Regions from separate parts of the Homo sapiens genome. Here regions 1 and 3 are each linked to region 2. The links are contacts of gene promoters, found by promoter capture Hi-C in blood cells and fetal thymus (Javierre and others, 2016). All regions are on one chromosome and are shown on one strand. The core of a region is centred on a gene start or on the middle of the fragment in contact, and the rest is flanking DNA. Distances in the headings are between cores, read along the strand shown. Region 1 overlaps PTPN5 (protein tyrosine phosphatase non-receptor type 5). Region 2 holds the start of MISFA (mitochondrial sheath formation associated). Region 3 holds the start of LOC105376577 (a long non-coding RNA gene).

Region 1 (2,973 bases), core at 42-2,541, 160 kb after region 2:
AGCACTTTGGGAGGCCGAGGCGGGCGGATCATGAGGTCAGGAGATCGAGACCACCCCGGCTAACACGGTGAAACCCCGTCTCTACTAAAAATAAAAAAAAAATTAGCCGGGTTTGGTGGCGTATGCCTGTAATCCCAGCTACTCGGGAGGCTGAGGCAGGAGAATTGCTTAAACCCGGGAGGTGGAGGCTGCAGTGAGCCAAGATCGTGCCACTGCACTCCAGCCTGAGTGACAGAGCAAGACTCCATCAAAAAAAAAAAAAAACCAAAAAACAAAAACAAAACAAAAAGAAACAGCACCAAGGTCCTAATAAACATCCCCACCTGTCCCACACATCATTTTCATATGTGTGTGTGTGAAATTCCAAAGTTTAGAGATGTAAAGTGATTCATGCAAGATCCAAGCTCAAAAAGGGCGGAGTCCAAATTCATTCACATCCAGGGCTTCTGAATCCGACAATAAGAAACCATAAAAAAATGAGCTGTGAATAAGACTTTATGGTTTACAAATCCCCATTCCCATCCATTGTCTCACTGAATTCTTATAACTACCATGAAAAAAATTGCTTTTCTCATTTCACAGTGGAAATGCCTCATGGGAGGGATGGAGCAGTGCAGGGTTTGTCCAAGCCCATCAGTGAAAGGCAATGCCCAATACAAGGGCAGACACACTCAGCACTGTCTTTACACCCAGGAAAATGTCCCTCATCCTGATCTCACACTTTGAAGGGCCCTGCTCCAATCCTCCATCAGGTATGCTCCTCCTCACAGGTAAGGAGTCCAGGGAACCAAAGGGACATTCTCCCTGTAAGGCCACATATTCAAAACCCCAGATTCCCTGGTCAAATGCTCCTCAGCCTGATTCCTGGACCTGGTGGCCCTCTTTTTTGACTGCTTCATGAGAGTACACTGTGCTGTGTGTATTCCTAGAACTGGCTAAGGTGACTGTTTGCAGAAGGTGTGTTTGGAGCTCAGATGTGTGGGCTGGGGTACCCATCTACCCAAGTGCTCATGAGTGTCCTTGTGGTGCTGGACAGAGCAGGGGTGGACTGGAGACTGGCTTTCCCTAGACCCCATATTTTGGTGCAGAACTCAGAATTCTCTATTTGAACCTGGCTTTTAAACTCCCTACAAATGAATATTCGTCAGAGTGGAAGGACAACATATTTCCTTTCAAAGCTTATCAGCTTGCTTTCGAACAGTTAGCTATCTAGACATAACATATACAGCCTTACAAATGTTAGGGGTGGGACTGCACACAGCTGTGCTCTTTGAAGTAGCAGGGAGGAGAGCCAAAGAAAAGAGAAGAGCAAAAGAGCCGAAGATTTAAGCAACAAAGGGTCAGTAGCTCAAATAGTGGAAGGTTGGGGAAAAGAATGAGACATGGGATGAAGGCCAAGGGGAGGAAGCTTTAGGAGAGGATGAAGCTAGTGTTAGGAGGAATGTGAAAGCTTATAAAGAGGATGTGCTGGTGGATGAAGGATGGCCACAGATTCTCTGCACTCCTCCTATCAAGAGGTGGCATTTACTTCCCATCCCTTGGATCTAGGCTGACCCTGTGACTGGCTTTGATCAACAAAATGTAGTGGAGTGACATTGTGTAACTTCTGGAGCTGGGCCTTAAGAGATCTGAAGCTTCTTTTTTGCCCCTCTTAGAGTGCTCCTTCTTGGTAATCACATAAGAAGTCCAACTACCATGAGACCATCATGCTGTGAGGAAGCCCAAGGTAGGAGCACTGAGGTGCCAGACATATAATAAAAGCTTTCTCCGACATTCTATCCCAGCACAGAATGAGGTGTGTTCAGCTGAATGAGTGACCTCAGCTGATGCCACATGGAATGGAAGAATCACCCAGCTAAACCCTGCATGACCCTCCAAGTCATGAGCAAATAAAATGGTTGTTGTTTGAAGCCACTAAGTGTTGAGATCGTCAGGCAGCAACAGACAACCAAAACAGATGCTGAGATCTGAAATGAAGAAATGAGCTTCAATGGAAGGATGAGTTTTTTTTTTTTTTCTTCAGATATAAAGAATTCCTGAGAGCTGGGGTGATTTGTCCCTGAGCCAGACCAAAGAGAAAGGTAATGGCATCTGTCACTGCATATGTTAGGAGTACGATGGATGTCCATTTGTCTAAAAGGGCATTGGCATCAACCTTTGAAGATGCAGGGGACTGGACCAGATGCATTCCTTCTTTCAGTTGCAAAGACTCTCTTTAAGTGTCATCACACATCCAGGCAACTCCCTAGAATATGAGAACTGTTTCTATCCTGGTGAAGGAAAACGGAGGATCATTCTCCCCACCAACCCTGGCCCCTTAAATATGTAAGCATAAAACACTCCTGCCTGTGGCTGTGCTGGTTCAGTGAGGTCTCAGACCTGTGGTGGGGAGTCAAGAAAGGACCACCAGATACACTACCCCACTCCACTGCTGTAGAACTGGCCTGGACCTGACGCCCGAGCCCCAGGCACAGGAACACAAAGAAAGAAAAAACACAAAGGAAAAAAAGGTTTTTTTTCTGTTCACATTCCATATCCTGGAACAACCATCACCGTCACTATTAGCTATCATTTATAGAGCACTCTGTAATAAGCACTTTACGTCCATGAACTCAATTAATCCTCACAAAATCTCTGTGAAGATGTCATCATATTACTACCCTTATTCTAGAGTGAGGAATTTGGAACTCACAGCAGTTAGATAATTTACCACAGGTCATGCTGTTGGTCAATAGCAGAGCTGGGATTTGAACCCAGCTGCCTGGCCATAGCACCCCAAGGCCTAGCTAGATGGGCTCCATCCTGGTGTCTGAGAATAGTTAGCCTCTACTATTGCTGACCAGTGGGCACCTGGGATGGTACTTCTTTTCTCAACACAATGGCATCGTTACAGAATACTGCCCAGTTAGTGTTCTTAGCACATCCAAATGGTGTTTCGTTTATACTTTAATTATCCATTCTGAAGACTCAAGT
Region 2 (2,952 bases), core at 71-2,570:
TCAGAGAAAATGGTCATTAACTCAGCAGTGCGGATATTAACCCTAGAGTAAAGGCTGCTCCTGGCCTATCATAAAGCTTCAAACAAGCCTCAGAAGAATCAAACTGATCGCAAGTAACTTAAGTGCACCTTAGAATAAAATTTAACACTGTTGAATACAACAAAATCCAGCACTCGGCAATAAAATTTACCATGTTCAACATCTAATCAAAAGTTGTAAGACATTTAAAGAAGCAGGAAATATCACAACAGGCCAGGCGCGGTGGCTCATGCCTGTAATCCCAGGACTTTGAGAGGCTGAGGCGGGTGGATCACCTGAGGTCAGGAGTTCGAGACCAGCCTGGCCAACATGGTGAAACACCATCTCTACTAAAAATACAAAAATTAGCCAGGCGTGGTGGCGGGTGCCTCTAATCCCAGCTACTTGGGAGGCTGAGGCAGGAGAATCACTTGAGCCCAGGAGGCGGAGGTTGCAGTGAGCTGAGATTGCACCACTGCACTCCAGCCTGGGCGACAGAGCAAGACTCTGTCTCAAAAAAAAAAAAATTGTAGAGATGAAAAATACATTAAATGTCCATGATGTTGTAGCAGAAAAGCAAAAAATATCTTTGGTGACCTCTGAGAGGGTGTCTAATAGTGGGGTGGGGCTAGAAGTCAGAATGTAATGCATGGAAGAGGCGTAGATTGGAAAAAGCTTTGAGTATGGACCACTTGTTTAGGAAGTTTGGTCATAAAAGGAAATTAAGAAATAAGACAGGGAAGGAGCCACAGTATCATCTGGAAGTTTTTTTGAGGAAAGGACAGGGGTACCTGTGGCTTCATGATGGCCAAGAAAAGAGAATCAATGGAGAGGAACTAATCCAAGGTGATGAAGATGTGGATATACCATCATGCTGAGGATCCCCTTGACATGGGGAGAGGAGGTTTTGCAGGGACAGAAATAGAGACATCTGTCTCATTTACCTGTAATTCAGTTTGTTTCGTTCACATGTCGTACACCTAGCAGCAAAACACCTTTCCAAATCTCTGCCTCTAGTGTAAAGAGCCCAGCTGCCCAAGAGGCAGCTGAGTCCTAAGTCTTGGCCCTGATCTGGAGCATCAGCTATGTGCTGTAGTGCGGGTCACTTAGGCTGTAGTCTAAGCCTTAGTTTTCTGATTAGTGAAATGGGGTTAACAATAATGCCTACTTCATAGTGTTGCTGTTTGCTGCTCAGCTGCTGGTCTGGGGGCAGTGTCTCTGGTGTGTTTTGAGTCTGGGCCATATGGTCAATGATGTCACAATGCCCTACTAGATTTCAGCTTCTCCACTAGGGAGTTGTGGATCCTTTGGAGCCAAAGACTCGAACAGACATGCGAGACCTCTACCAACTGAAGGTTTCGTGAGCGCACTCCTTTGCCAAGATCTTGGTGAATAGTCTTTCACTGTGCAATTTTATCTTAGAAATTGTTTTACGTTTGATCATGATTGTGCTTGGCTGGATGTTTTTTGTTGGACTTGTGTGTTACATGGGCACGTTTCCAGAGTTGATGGTAAGTAATGGCTCTGCCTGTAAATCCCTGGTGGTCAGTCCTGTGCTGGCTCATCTTCCTGTCTGGGTTTTCTGACCAAATGGGAAAGATAGTTGAGGTCTCACCACTAACTGGAAGTCAGAATGTGATGGGAACAAAGTTAGTGTCCCAGGCTACCGGGCTACTTCCCATCCCACTAGGGACATCCTTTTTTATTTTTTATTTATTATTATTATTATTTTTTGAGATGGAGTTTTGCTCTTGTTGCCCAGGCTGGAGTGCAGTGGCGCGATCTCGGCTCACTGCAACCTCCGCCTCTCAGGCTCAAGCGATTCTCCTGCCTCAGCCTCCTGAGCAGCTGGGATTACAGGCATGCACCACCACGCCTGGCGAATTTTGTGTTTTTAGTAGAAACAGGGTTTCTCCATGTTGGTCAGGCTGGTCTCAAAGTCCTGACCTCAGGTGATCCACCCACCTCGGCCTCCCAAAGTGCTGGGATTACAGGCATGAGCCACCACGCCTGGCTGGGGACATCCTTTTTTTTTTTTTTTTTTTTTTTTTGGAGACGGAGTCTTGCTCTGTCGCCCAGGCTGGAATGCAGTGGTGCGATCTCGGCTCACTGCAAGCTCTGCCTCCTGGGTTCATGCCATTCTCCTGCCTCAGCCTCCCGAGTAGCTGGGACTACAGGCTCCCACCACCATGCTTGGCTAATTTTTGGTATTTTTAGTAGAGACGGGGTTTCACTGTGTTAGCCAGGATGGTCTAGATCTCCTAACTTCGTGATCCGCCTGCCTCGGCTCCCCAAAGTGCTGGGATTACAGGCGTGAGCCACTGCGCCCGGCCAGGACATCCTTTTAAGTCTTTTTTTGTTTCCCCCTCCCTTGCATATATAGCTGTACTTGTTTCAAAGCACTATGGAATTTGCAAGGGGTCTGCTGGAGACCGTATTTGACTTGCGGATTGCAGGCCAAGTGGATCAGTGGTTATTGGTAGGAAGGGGGACGGTAGGGATTGGTGGGACCTTTTAGCAGCCCTTCTGGTCACCACACAGAGTGGTTACCCACTGGGCCAATGAGTAGAGCCATCTCTGCCCTCAAATTTTCTTTCTGATTCAGCCTCCAACTCTGAAGTGGCAGGAGAGGTGGCCTGTTCAGGAGAGCAAAACACAACTGAGGAGGCGGGCTTTAGGTGAAGATCTGCTGCAGTAAGTGGGTGGTCAGGTCTGGTGGGTTGGATTCCTCCCTTTCCAAAGTACTTGGTAGCACCCTGAAGTCTCAGTGGAGAATGTTTATTCCTCTGGAAAATATAATAAACTGTGGAAGGGGAAATGATTTGGTGAGTACTGCTGAGGACAGCAGGCCAAAGTTGTCTATTAATAACCATGTCTCATAGGTGTTGTTTTGAAGACTGTTCCCATCTATTATTTTTCTCCTCACAACACTGT
Region 3 (2,895 bases), core at 136-2,635, 250 kb before region 2:
GTGTATAGCATTACAAAGAGTATTTCCCCAGCTTTGGCTTGCCAGCCAACTTTCCATTGACTCTAGCCTGTTAGCCATTTTTATTGTTTTTTGTTTGTTTGTTTGTTTGTTTTCCTCACATGTACACATACATACAGATTGTTCTTATATGTGATTTTGTTCTCTGGGAATAAAATCTTCATTCAACAGAGGCAATATGACAGAAAAACCGAAGTTTCATGTATATGATTTTTCAAAGAAAGTGAATTGGCCCTCATGTTAAACCTAGCATTTCAGAGCTGAAAGTGTCTTCTCATTAAATATTGAAGAAATCATTTGAGGGTGTGGAGAAGGATGGACAGAATTAGCTGCTTGTGTATTTATTCTTCTCCTGCAACTTTGCCACGCTATTTTGTACCTCCCTTCCTAATTATGATAAAGCTTTCTTAGAGAGCAGTCAGGCAATGTGTATTAAATGTTTAAAGCTTTACACCCTTAGTTCTACTTGTGGACATTTATTTCTTAAGAAAGATGTATACTAAGATTTAGATAGAAATATTCATTACAGTATCATAATAAAGACAGTAGCAAGGATTCTGTTATCTGTGTTGCATTAATACAATAGAGATTGATGCAACTGTTCATTATTTTGAAAGCATTAATGATAATATTGCATCAAAGAGTTCACTGAACAGATTGTACAGTACAGTTTTACACACAAAAAAAATAGTTTGTGAGCTTTAAAAGGGCCTTCAAATGAATATGCTAAACGGTTATCTTTCAATAAAGAGAGTATGGGTAAGTCTTAATTTCTTTCATTTATTTCAGTAATTTAATGTTTTTGTTGTTGTTATTGTTTGTTTTTTTGAGACAGAGTCTTGCTCTGTCACCCAGGCTGGAGTGCAGTGGTGCAATCTCAGCTCACTGCAATCTCGGCTCACTGCAACGTCTGCCTCCTGGATTCAAGCAATTCTTCTGCCTCAGCCTCCGGAGTAGCTGGGATTACAGGCGTGCACCACCATACCTAGCTAATTTTTGTATTTTTAGTAGAGACGGAGTTTTGCCATATTGGCCAGGCTGGTGTTGAACTCCTGGCCTCATGTGATCCGCCCATCTCAGCCTCCCAAAGTGCTGGGGTTACAGGCATGAGCCACTGTGCCAGCCTATTTCAGTAACTTAATGTTTTTACAGGCATGTATTACCTATAAAATTAATAAAGCCAGTGAGGTATTTCTTTTTTGAACTAAAGCAAAGCTAATAATAAGTTATAGAGAAGTTAGAGAAGAAATCTATTAAGTGATACTTTCTTTGTATACTGTTGGGCTGAGTACCCTTGATTCTTGGTGGTGAACAAGTTATCAGAAATTTCTTGGCCAGGAGCCGTGGCTCACACCTGTAGTCCCAGCACTTTGGGAGTCCAAGGTGGGTGGATCACTTGAGGTCAGAATTTCTAGATCAGCCTGGCCAGCATGGTGAAACCCTGTCTCTATTAAAAATACAGAAATTAGCCAGGCATGGTGACGTGCGCCTGTAATTCCAGCTACCTGGGAGGCTGAGGCAGCAAAATCACTTGAACCTGGCAGGCGGAGTTCGCAGTGAGCTGGGATCGCGTCGCTGCACTCCAGCCTGGATGACAGAGCAAGACTCCATCTCAAAGAAAAAATAAAAAAGAAATTTATTTACTTGTGTGAATTTTTACAATACAGATGCTTCTCGACTTAAATGGGGCTACATCCCAATAAACTCATAAGTTGCAAATACTGTAAATCAAAAATGCATTGAATACACCTAATGTATGGAACACCATAGTTTAGCCTATCCTACTTTAAATGTGTTCCGAACACTTAGATTAGCCTGTAGTTGGGCAGCATTACCTACTATAAAGTGTATTTTCTAATAAAATGTTGAATATCTCATGTAACTCATTGAATACTGAAAGTGAAAAACAATGTATGGGTACTCAAAATATGGTTTCTCTACTGAATGTGAATCACTTTGACACCATCATAAAGTTGAAAAATTCCAAGTCAAACCATTGTAAGTCAGGGGCTATCAGTATTCAGTGGTAAATGCTGGCTCTAACTATTCTTCCAAGTCAGTGGTTGACTGCTGTTTATTCTATAAAGGGTTACAATTTATAGATTCTCTCACTTGTAGAATGAGAGATTCAGAATTAATAGCAGACAGAGTCCCTACCTTGATGGAGCTTTCATTTAAGTGTGAAAGTCAGGTGACCTAACAAGGCCTTGGCATAAGTTTAGGATTTGGATTGTTATGGGAGCTTGGGTAGGGACATGTCATAGGTAAGGCAACAGCAGGGGTAGAGATAAGCTTGACATATGTCAAAAATCATGAAGACATCAGTAATCCTTGAAGTTGGCTGAAAGGTATAGAGTTGAGAAAGTAGTTAAAAAAAAAAAAGTCAGGCTGAGTCTAGGTAAGGATGTGTTTCTCTGAGGTCAGATTTGTTCCTGTACCATAAAGGGACTATTTAGAATCTTAAAGCTGGAGCAATTTAAAACGTTAAGTTTTCAGATTGAGGTCAGATTTGTGACTTCATGTGAGGTCAGATTTGTTCCTGTACCATAAAGGGACTATTTAGAATCTTAAAGCTGGAGCAATTTAAAACGTTAAGTTTTCAGATTGACGTTTTTTGAGGTATAGTTAATAACCTGAATGTTCTGATTCTAGTCTTGGTAGTCAATAAGAGTTGACCAGATGAATTTCATAGCTTTGTAGAGGATGAAATATTTCAAGGCTGATTTGCACAAATGTTTACATAGATCATGTATCTTTCATAAGTAATATGTTTGTATTATTACAAGGCTGTAAAAATTTAAGCAGGTTGTTAATAGCACAGGGGGTAACAGATTAATAAAATTAATGAATAAAATTACTAAAAGAGTCCAGAAGTAA

What was found. Contacts are between HindIII fragments. The CHiCAGO score rates a contact against its expected background, and 5 or more counts as called.
Region 1: a fragment that was not itself captured here is called in contact with the fragment with the promoter of MISFA in region 2 in 2 of 17 cell types (activated CD4 T cells and naive CD4 T cells); the score reaches 6.3 in activated CD4 T cells.
Region 3: a contact is called between a fragment that was not itself captured here and the fragment with the promoter of MISFA in region 2, in 3 of 17 cell types (neutrophils, total CD8 T cells and activated CD4 T cells). The highest score is 6.6, in neutrophils.

Annotation. Positions count from the first base shown.
Region 1 is chr11:18,756,673-18,759,645 of GRCh38, forward strand. All of the region lies in intron 3 of PTPN5 (protein tyrosine phosphatase non-receptor type 5), which reads right to left. Among named protein-coding and RNA genes, the nearest start is that of IGSF22, 32 kb to the left of the region's middle. The HindIII fragment of the contact is 230 bases long and covers 1,177-1,406 here.
Region 2 is chr11:18,598,469-18,601,420 of GRCh38, forward strand. MISFA (mitochondrial sheath formation associated) reads left to right here and starts at 1,321. Exons shown (of 4, transcript NM_001355570.4): 1 at 1,321-1,529; 2 at 2,624-2,712. The coding sequence starts at 1,461. It overlaps LOC112268073 (a long non-coding RNA gene), which reads right to left and starts at 1,079. Exons shown (of 4, transcript XR_002957242.2): 1 at 963-1,079. The HindIII fragment of the contact is 4,225 bases long and covers 692-2,952 here.
Region 3 is chr11:18,348,051-18,350,945 of GRCh38, forward strand. All of the region lies in intron 9 of GTF2H1 (general transcription factor IIH subunit 1), which reads left to right. It overlaps LOC105376577 (a long non-coding RNA gene), which reads left to right and starts at 1,067. Exons shown (of 2, transcript XR_007062611.1): 1 at 1,067-2,437; 2 at 2,545-2,895. The HindIII fragment of the contact is 1,846 bases long and covers 463-2,308 here.